3 separate regions of the Homo sapiens genome follow, and regions 1 and 3 are each linked to region 2. The links are contacts of gene promoters, found by promoter capture Hi-C in blood cells and fetal thymus (Javierre and others, 2016). All regions are on one chromosome and are shown on one strand. Each heading gives the region's core, a stretch centred on a gene start or on the middle of the fragment in contact. The rest is flanking DNA. Distances are from core to core; before and after follow the strand shown. Region 1 overlaps SCIRT (stem cell inhibitory RNA transcript). Region 2 holds the start of VEGFA (vascular endothelial growth factor A). Region 3 has its middle 24 kb from the start of MRPL14.

Evidence for each region. Contacts are between HindIII fragments. The CHiCAGO score rates a contact against its expected background, and 5 or more counts as called.
Region 1: a contact is called between a fragment that was not itself captured here and the fragment with the promoter of VEGFA in region 2, in 10 of 17 cell types (erythroblasts, endothelial precursors, total CD8 T cells and 7 more). The highest score is 10.6, in erythroblasts.
Region 3: a fragment that was not itself captured here is called in contact with the fragment with the promoter of VEGFA in region 2 in 3 of 17 cell types (fetal thymus, endothelial precursors and erythroblasts); the score reaches 6.1 in fetal thymus.

Annotation. Positions count from the first base shown.
Region 1 is chr6:44,029,742-44,032,441 of GRCh38, forward strand. All of the region lies in intron 1 of SCIRT (stem cell inhibitory RNA transcript), which reads right to left. Among named protein-coding and RNA genes, the nearest start is that of LINC03040, 31 kb to the left of the region's middle. The HindIII fragment of the contact is 6,000 bases long and covers 1-2,700 here.
Region 2 is chr6:43,768,935-43,771,634 of GRCh38, forward strand. It overlaps VEGFA (vascular endothelial growth factor A), which reads left to right and starts at 1,277. Exons shown (of 8, transcript NM_003376.6): 1 at 1,277-2,378. The coding sequence starts at 1,773. RefSeq lists silencers at 1,090-1,339, 1,717-2,656 and enhancers at 1,702-2,467, 2,468-2,700. The HindIII fragment of the contact is 11,673 bases long and covers 1-2,700 here.
Region 3 is chr6:44,102,594-44,105,293 of GRCh38, forward strand. No RefSeq gene overlaps it. Among named protein-coding and RNA genes, the nearest start is that of MRPL14, 24 kb to the right of the region's middle. RefSeq lists enhancers at 1-150, 151-699, 1,802-1,971. The HindIII fragment of the contact is 3,964 bases long and covers 1-2,700 here.

The sequences.
Region 1 (2,700 bases), core at 59-2,558, 260 kb after region 2:
GGATCCACCAGTGGCACCTACTTTTCCACAGGAAGCCACACAAGTCAAGAATCCACCATGATTTTGCAAGATGGCTCCAGGGAAAGCCCTCCTGGGTTGTGCCTCAAATGCCCAAAGGGCTCCTCATTCTGCCATGCACCCCACCTCATTCTGAAGGCCTAGCCCTCATTGTGTGTGCACATCCAACCTCCAGGGCCCATCTTGCCTCTTTCTATCCAAGTCCCTGCCTTTAGTGCCTGCCCAGGGTCCTGGATCCCCCAAGGCTGGGACCCGCCTTGCTCTTGCCTTTCTTGTCAGAAGCTGTACTTCTGTCCTTAGCCCCAGTCTGATGGCAGGAGACCCTTCCTGCTGACCAGTCTTCCCACTATATTCCCAGTCTCCCATGGCTGGGAAATAGGGTTGGCTTCAGTTGTCCCTACTGGGATGCACCAAAAGTAGCAGGAAAAGATTCAAGAACCCTTTAATGCTCACAGCTTCGTCAGCATCCAGACGTCGTTCAGTCCCCTGCCTCCAGAGCAGGGTGTCCACCACTCACTCTTGCTGGCCTCCTGTCAATGGCTGACCATGCTCTTCTCACTTTGCCTAAAACTCAGTTTACCCCCACACCTGTCTATATGCTCTATTTTCTCTCCTGATGAAAGAGCGGAGAATGTGTCTATACTCACTCAGGTATACAACACAGTTACAAAACCACCTTCCTTCCTCTTAAATGACTGCATTAATTAAAGGTTTGTAGGCCTGGAAGATGCTAAGGTTCTAGGTCAAGGAATTTCCTCTTCTGTGCTCCTAGAGCTGACAGTTGTAAGGAAAGGAAGGGCAGCTCAGGGAGGACATCTAAAGGGCTCTCTTGTCTCCTGGTTACCTGGCCTCAGCACATCGCCCACACCCTCTGCCACTTCAATCCCTGCCCAGAGGGGACAGAGGGGACACTGGAAAATCCCCTCCCTCCCTCCCTCTAACCCTCTCCTCTCTCCAACAAGCCCTGGGCACAGCAATGTTCACCCAAGAGTGATGCTGAAGTCAGCCAGGTTCCTAAGAAAGGGTCATGGCCAGAGGACTTCGAAACTGCTTCAAGAAATGGAGGGAGGGTGCGGTGACTTCATATGTTTAGGACCAAAGAACAGTCCTAGGGATGCTGGAGGAGATAGGGGGGAGGACGTGGTCACTGCTTTCAGAAGCTGCTGCATGAAGGCTGCATGCTGCAAATGTTAAGAAATAGCCATGCCAGGCTGACATCTTCCTGACCTCCTGCCACCTTCAGGGCTCTCCTTTAGCCTCCCTGTCCTAGTGTAAGAGTAGCCACCTGTGCCTGCATTGAGTCCACTAGCCTGGGAGAGGCCCAAAGTTCTGGATCATGCCTCCCTCAAAAGACTGGGGCTCAAGATAGTCCTGAGGGTGACAGAGGTGCAGGGCTTCCTCAGGGGGCAAGCAGAAGAGTCCTGGTTTTCTTCCAAGGACCCCTGCCCCCTGCTGTTCAGTCCTCTCCAGCCCCCAGGGCTTCTCAACCCCCTGCTCGTCTCCACATACTCTGTCAGCCTTAAGGAGGCTCTTGTGGATCCTCATTCCTTCGGGACAGGAGGCCAACAGCTATGTCCTGAGCCTCAGCTCTTCCCTGGCCATGCCCCCGCCTCACACCTCCAGCCCTGATTTTGTGCCTCTGCTTCCAAGGGAGGAAGATGAACGACGGAGGAAGTTCTGAGCTAAGGAAGGGAGTATTGATGAAAGTTGTGTTGACAAAAGAATGTGTCAAGACTAAGTATGATTCTTTCCAGAAGTACAAGAAAGCCAAATTCTGGGAAACTCAACATAACCTACTATATTAGCATGTAAAATAGATTAATTTTCCCAACATGTTTAATGGGGAGACTCTAAAAGCAGTCCCGTTAAAGTTGACGTCAGCTCTCCCCATAAACTATCACCATTAGTATTTAATATTGTTCTGCAATTACTTGACAATGCAGTTAGATGAAAAATAAAATAAGAGGTATAAATATTGTAAAAAGAAAGCAGTTATTATCATTGGATGATATTACTCTATACTTGGATATTCCAAGAGAATCAGCTAAAGAACTTTTAGTAATATCAGGAATTTATCAAAGTGGCTAGTTTAAAAACAAGATTTCCTAAATACAAGAAATAACTAATAAAAGAATATGGAAAAACATCCCATTAATAAGGTTAACAAAAACCTAACATAAAACACATAGAAAAAATGTGCAGATACATGGAAATAGCTGTAAAAGCTAAATGAGGGACATACACATAGACTTGAATCGATGGAGAAAGACCTTTTCCTTGGATAAAAAGTCAGTAATATTGTAAGCATGTCAGTGTCACCATAATTAAACTATAAATTCAGCATACTTCTGTACAAAATATCAGCTGCTTTTGGGGGATAATTTGACAAAATGATTACATACAAATTCCTCTGGAAAAATAAATATAAATGAATAGAACATTCCTGGAAGGAAAAATAAGTAAACTAACAAGGAAAGAGTAGCACTATAAAACATTTTTCAAAAATAGTATACAGCTACAATAATTAAAATAGTGTGGGACTGGTGCCTGCATACAGATCAATTGGAAAGAATAAAACAATTTTAAATAGGCCCAAATAAACATGAGAATTCAATTCAATAAATTGAGATACTAGTCAGATATTTGGATCAAAAATAAATAAATCTGGATTCGCTACATCAC
Region 2 (2,700 bases), core at 27-2,526:
TGGGGGAGCTGAGACGAAACCCCCATTTCTATTCAGAAGATGAGCTATGAGTCTGGGCTTGGGCTGATAGAAGCCTTGGCCCCTGGCCTGGTGGGAGCTCTGGGCAGCTGGCCTACAGACGTTCCTTAGTGCTGGCGGGTAGGTTTGAATCATCACGCAGGCCCTGGCCTCCACCCGCCCCCACCAGCCCCCTGGCCTCAGTTCCCTGGCAACATCTGGGGTTGGGGGGGCAGCAGGAACAAGGGCCTCTGTCTGCCCAGCTGCCTCCCCCTTTGGGTTTTGCCAGACTCCACAGTGCATACGTGGGCTCCAACAGGTCCTCTTCCCTCCCAGTCACTGACTAACCCCGGAACCACACAGCTTCCCGTTCTCAGCTCCACAAACTTGGTGCCAAATTCTTCTCCCCTGGGAAGCATCCCTGGACACTTCCCAAAGGACCCCAGTCACTCCAGCCTGTTGGCTGCCGCTCACTTTGATGTCTGCAGGCCAGATGAGGGCTCCAGATGGCACATTGTCAGAGGGACACACTGTGGCCCCTGTGCCCAGCCCTGGGCTCTCTGTACATGAAGCAACTCCAGTCCCAAATATGTAGCTGTTTGGGAGGTCAGAAATAGGGGGTCCAGGAGCAAACTCCCCCCACCCCCTTTCCAAAGCCCATTCCCTCTTTAGCCAGAGCCGGGGTGTGCAGACGGCAGTCACTAGGGGGCGCTCGGCCACCACAGGGAAGCTGGGTGAATGGAGCGAGCAGCGTCTTCGAGAGTGAGGACGTGTGTGTCTGTGTGGGTGAGTGAGTGTGTGCGTGTGGGGTTGAGGGCGTTGGAGCGGGGAGAAGGCCAGGGGTCACTCCAGGATTCCAATAGATCTGTGTGTCCCTCTCCCCACCCGTCCCTGTCCGGCTCTCCGCCTTCCCCTGCCCCCTTCAATATTCCTAGCAAAGAGGGAACGGCTCTCAGGCCCTGTCCGCACGTAACCTCACTTTCCTGCTCCCTCCTCGCCAATGCCCCGCGGGCGCGTGTCTCTGGACAGAGTTTCCGGGGGCGGATGGGTAATTTTCAGGCTGTGAACCTTGGTGGGGGTCGAGCTTCCCCTTCATTGCGGCGGGCTGCGGGCCAGGCTTCACTGAGCGTCCGCAGAGCCCGGGCCCGAGCCGCGTGTGGAAGGGCTGAGGCTCGCCTGTCCCCGCCCCCCGGGGCGGGCCGGGGGCGGGGTCCCGGCGGGGCGGAGCCATGCGCCCCCCCCTTTTTTTTTTAAAAGTCGGCTGGTAGCGGGGAGGATCGCGGAGGCTTGGGGCAGCCGGGTAGCTCGGAGGTCGTGGCGCTGGGGGCTAGCACCAGCGCTCTGTCGGGAGGCGCAGCGGTTAGGTGGACCGGTCAGCGGACTCACCGGCCAGGGCGCTCGGTGCTGGAATTTGATATTCATTGATCCGGGTTTTATCCCTCTTCTTTTTTCTTAAACATTTTTTTTTAAAACTGTATTGTTTCTCGTTTTAATTTATTTTTGCTTGCCATTCCCCACTTGAATCGGGCCGACGGCTTGGGGAGATTGCTCTACTTCCCCAAATCACTGTGGATTTTGGAAACCAGCAGAAAGAGGAAAGAGGTAGCAAGAGCTCCAGAGAGAAGTCGAGGAAGAGAGAGACGGGGTCAGAGAGAGCGCGCGGGCGTGCGAGCAGCGAAAGCGACAGGGGCAAAGTGAGTGACCTGCTTTTGGGGGTGACCGCCGGAGCGCGGCGTGAGCCCTCCCCCTTGGGATCCCGCAGCTGACCAGTCGCGCTGACGGACAGACAGACAGACACCGCCCCCAGCCCCAGCTACCACCTCCTCCCCGGCCGGCGGCGGACAGTGGACGCGGCGGCGAGCCGCGGGCAGGGGCCGGAGCCCGCGCCCGGAGGCGGGGTGGAGGGGGTCGGGGCTCGCGGCGTCGCACTGAAACTTTTCGTCCAACTTCTGGGCTGTTCTCGCTTCGGAGGAGCCGTGGTCCGCGCGGGGGAAGCCGAGCCGAGCGGAGCCGCGAGAAGTGCTAGCTCGGGCCGGGAGGAGCCGCAGCCGGAGGAGGGGGAGGAGGAAGAAGAGAAGGAAGAGGAGAGGGGGCCGCAGTGGCGACTCGGCGCTCGGAAGCCGGGCTCATGGACGGGTGAGGCGGCGGTGTGCGCAGACAGTGCTCCAGCCGCGCGCGCTCCCCAGGCCCTGGCCCGGGCCTCGGGCCGGGGAGGAAGAGTAGCTCGCCGAGGCGCCGAGGAGAGCGGGCCGCCCCACAGCCCGAGCCGGAGAGGGAGCGCGAGCCGCGCCGGCCCCGGTCGGGCCTCCGAAACCATGAACTTTCTGCTGTCTTGGGTGCATTGGAGCCTTGCCTTGCTGCTCTACCTCCACCATGCCAAGGTAAGCGGTCGTGCCCTGCTGGCGCCGCGGGCCGCTGCGAGCGCCTCTCCCGGCTGGGGACGTGCGTGCGAGCGCGCGCGTGGGGGCTCCGTGCCCCACGCGGGTCCATGGGCACCAGGCGTGCGGCGTCCCCCTCTGTCGTCTTAGGTGCAGGGGGAGGGGGCGCGCGCGCTAGGTGGGAGGGTACCCGGAGAGAGGCTCACCGCCCACGCGGGCCCTGCCCACCCACCGGAGTCACCGCACGTACGATCTGGGCCGACCAGCCGAGGGCGGGAGCCGGAGGAGGAGGCCGAGGGGGCTGGGCTTGCGTTGCCGCTGCCGG
Region 3 (2,700 bases), core at 74-2,573, 330 kb after region 2:
TGCGCTTTATTTCTTGGACATGGCTCAGAGGAGGGGCAGCTCCAGAGCACAAGGGCAGGGCGAGAGGCAGCACAGGCCAGCAGGAGAGAAAGCCCTGTAGCCCAGATCACACACAGTCTCACCAGACCCCCAGCTGTGCATTGGCTGCTGCAGGCATCTCCCCTCCCTGCCTCAGCCCAGGCCTCCACCAGTCAGCAGCTGAGCTGGCCCAGCTCCCCTCCACAGGAACAGCCTGCAGCTTGCCCTGTGCTCACCCCCAACCCCCTACCCCATTCTCCTTCACTATGAAGTTCCTCTGAATACAAAGCCCACCTCTCAATAACCTATCCCAAGATAATTTGATAGTGCTAACTTGAATTTCTGAACTCCCTGCCCTGTTTCCCAGCATGGTCCTTTCTCTATGCCAAGCTACTTCTACCTACTAAATAGCTATTTTCCCTCAAATCTTTCTTAACTCCTGTCCTCCATCCCTGCCTTGCCTTACCAGAGTATTATGTTGTTTTGTTTTGTTTTCCTTTTTTTTTTTTTTTTTTTGAGACGAAGTCTTGCTCTGTCACCCAGGCTGGAGTGCAGTGGCACGATCTCAGCTCACTCAACCTCCGCCTCCCGGGTTTAAGCGATTCTCCTGTGTCAGCCTCCCGAGTAGCCGGGATTACAGGTGCATGCCACCACGCCCAGCTAATTTTCGTATTTTTGGTAGAGATAGTTTCGCCACGCTGGCCAGACTGGTCTCAAACTCCTGACCTCAGATGATCTACCCGCCTCGGCCTCCCAAAGTGCAGGAATTACAGGCGTGAGCCACCGCGCCTGGCCATCTCTTGAATTTACTGAATTCCCTGCTCCCTTCCTGGTCCTTCATACCAACCCTTTTAGAGGGGTTCTTTGCACAGCAGCTGAGTGATCTTAATAAATGTCCATCTGGGATGGGGAGCCACTGGCCAGTTAAAGCAGGGCAGTGACAGGGTTAAAGTCCCAGCACCTAGTGCAACCTATGTAGCCTTCCCTGGCCTGGCCCGTCAGCTACCTCAGCCCCACTGCAACCCTCTAGGTACCTCAAACAGCTGGCAGGTCCCGGCACATCCCACCCGGCATCACACCTCTGGTTTTGGCTGGGATGAAAGGGTATTCCCACTTCAGCCTGTCACTTGACTAACTCTGACTGTCCAGCTTCCAGGCTCTGGGCATCTCCTCAGGAAGCCTTTCTGACCCTCCTGGGTCAGTGTTGCCACAGCACATGGGCTCCTGTCACCTGCTGCAGGAGGCAGAAACTGCTCATGGATCTGTCTCCCTTCTGAGAGCTTCTCCAGGGCAAGATCCATATTTTGCCCATCTGGGCACACACAGTAAATGTTTGCATCAGTCAGCGTCCAAGCAGGCAACAAGGGGCCACTTGAATTGGGATAATGTGAGGAGAATTTAACAAAGGGACTGTTTACAAAGGTGTGGACCAGTACAGTGGGTGCTGTAGTGCCCTGACGCCAAGGCCCCAAGAGTGTAGAGCACTGCCTGAGGGGCTGTGACATATGACTGAAGAGTGTGGTCAGCCCTGCAGGAATGGGAGCCCGCTGATGCAGTCCATACAGGTCAGCCTCCTGGGGCACAGGGCAGGGTGGAAAAGGGTGAGAGGGACCCCGAGGGACAGATTAAGATGTCCAACCCAGGGCTCAACCAATGTCAATTGAACAGAACTTCACTGATGAGACACCCTGAGCAGGGTTCCACAGACCGACCACTTCTCCAAGGAGAAAACAACATTCCAGGCCAAAGATGTGCCAAGGCTCACCTGTGGGGTCAGCATGGCTTATGCCGGTGTAAAGGCAGCAACAGTACCGACAGGGTTGGAGAAGCAATGAGCAAAGTCGAGGTCTCCAAGTGGGACAAACCCCCGCCTCCAGGTTGAGAGCACCAAGTGAGCAGAGTTCCTCCGCCAGGCTGCAAGGGACTTCCTTAGCTTGGGTTTTCCAGATGAGGAACTGGGTCTGGAGGTGAGTGGTGGCCCTTTGTGGGGATGGGGAAGAACCCACACTCTTTCTTCACTTGATAACTCACTCAGCAAACATTAGGAACCCACTTGAAAATGGGTGTTAACAGCTCCAGGGTGAGCCAAGACCCAGGAAGCCCCCAGTTGGCTAAGTGCAGAGAATGAAGACTGGCCCATTTCCTTGGCAGAGTAGATGACCAAGCTGTGGAGTGACAGGAAACAGTGGTGTTAAATAAGGCCAGGAGCCAACCTCCAGCAGGAAGCACTGACCTCAGCTTGGGCCGGAAGGTGCTGACCTAAGAGGCAACTGGAAGTAACTACAAGTATCCACAATGGTCATCCAACAGATGCTTCCGGAAAACTATTTTAATAGCTGAGGGAAGGCACATTACCAAGAAATATTTCCACCACAGGTCAGTGCAGCAGAAAAAGCAGAAGAAATGTGGTCAGGTGGTCCTGACTTCAAATCTCAGCCTGCCACTTGACTACAAGTCCCTTAACTCTTCTCAGCCTGGGTTTTCTCACACATAAATCAGATACAATAATCACACGGCATCATTGTGAAGACTTGGAAGAGAATATGCAAAGTGTCCAGCACAAAACTGGCATAAAGCAAGCCCTCAATAAATTGGTTTCTCTTGTCTGTTCCTACTACCATATGCCACAGACCAAGGCTGAAAGAGATGTGGTTTCTACCTCGGTGGGCAGCCAGATTGTCG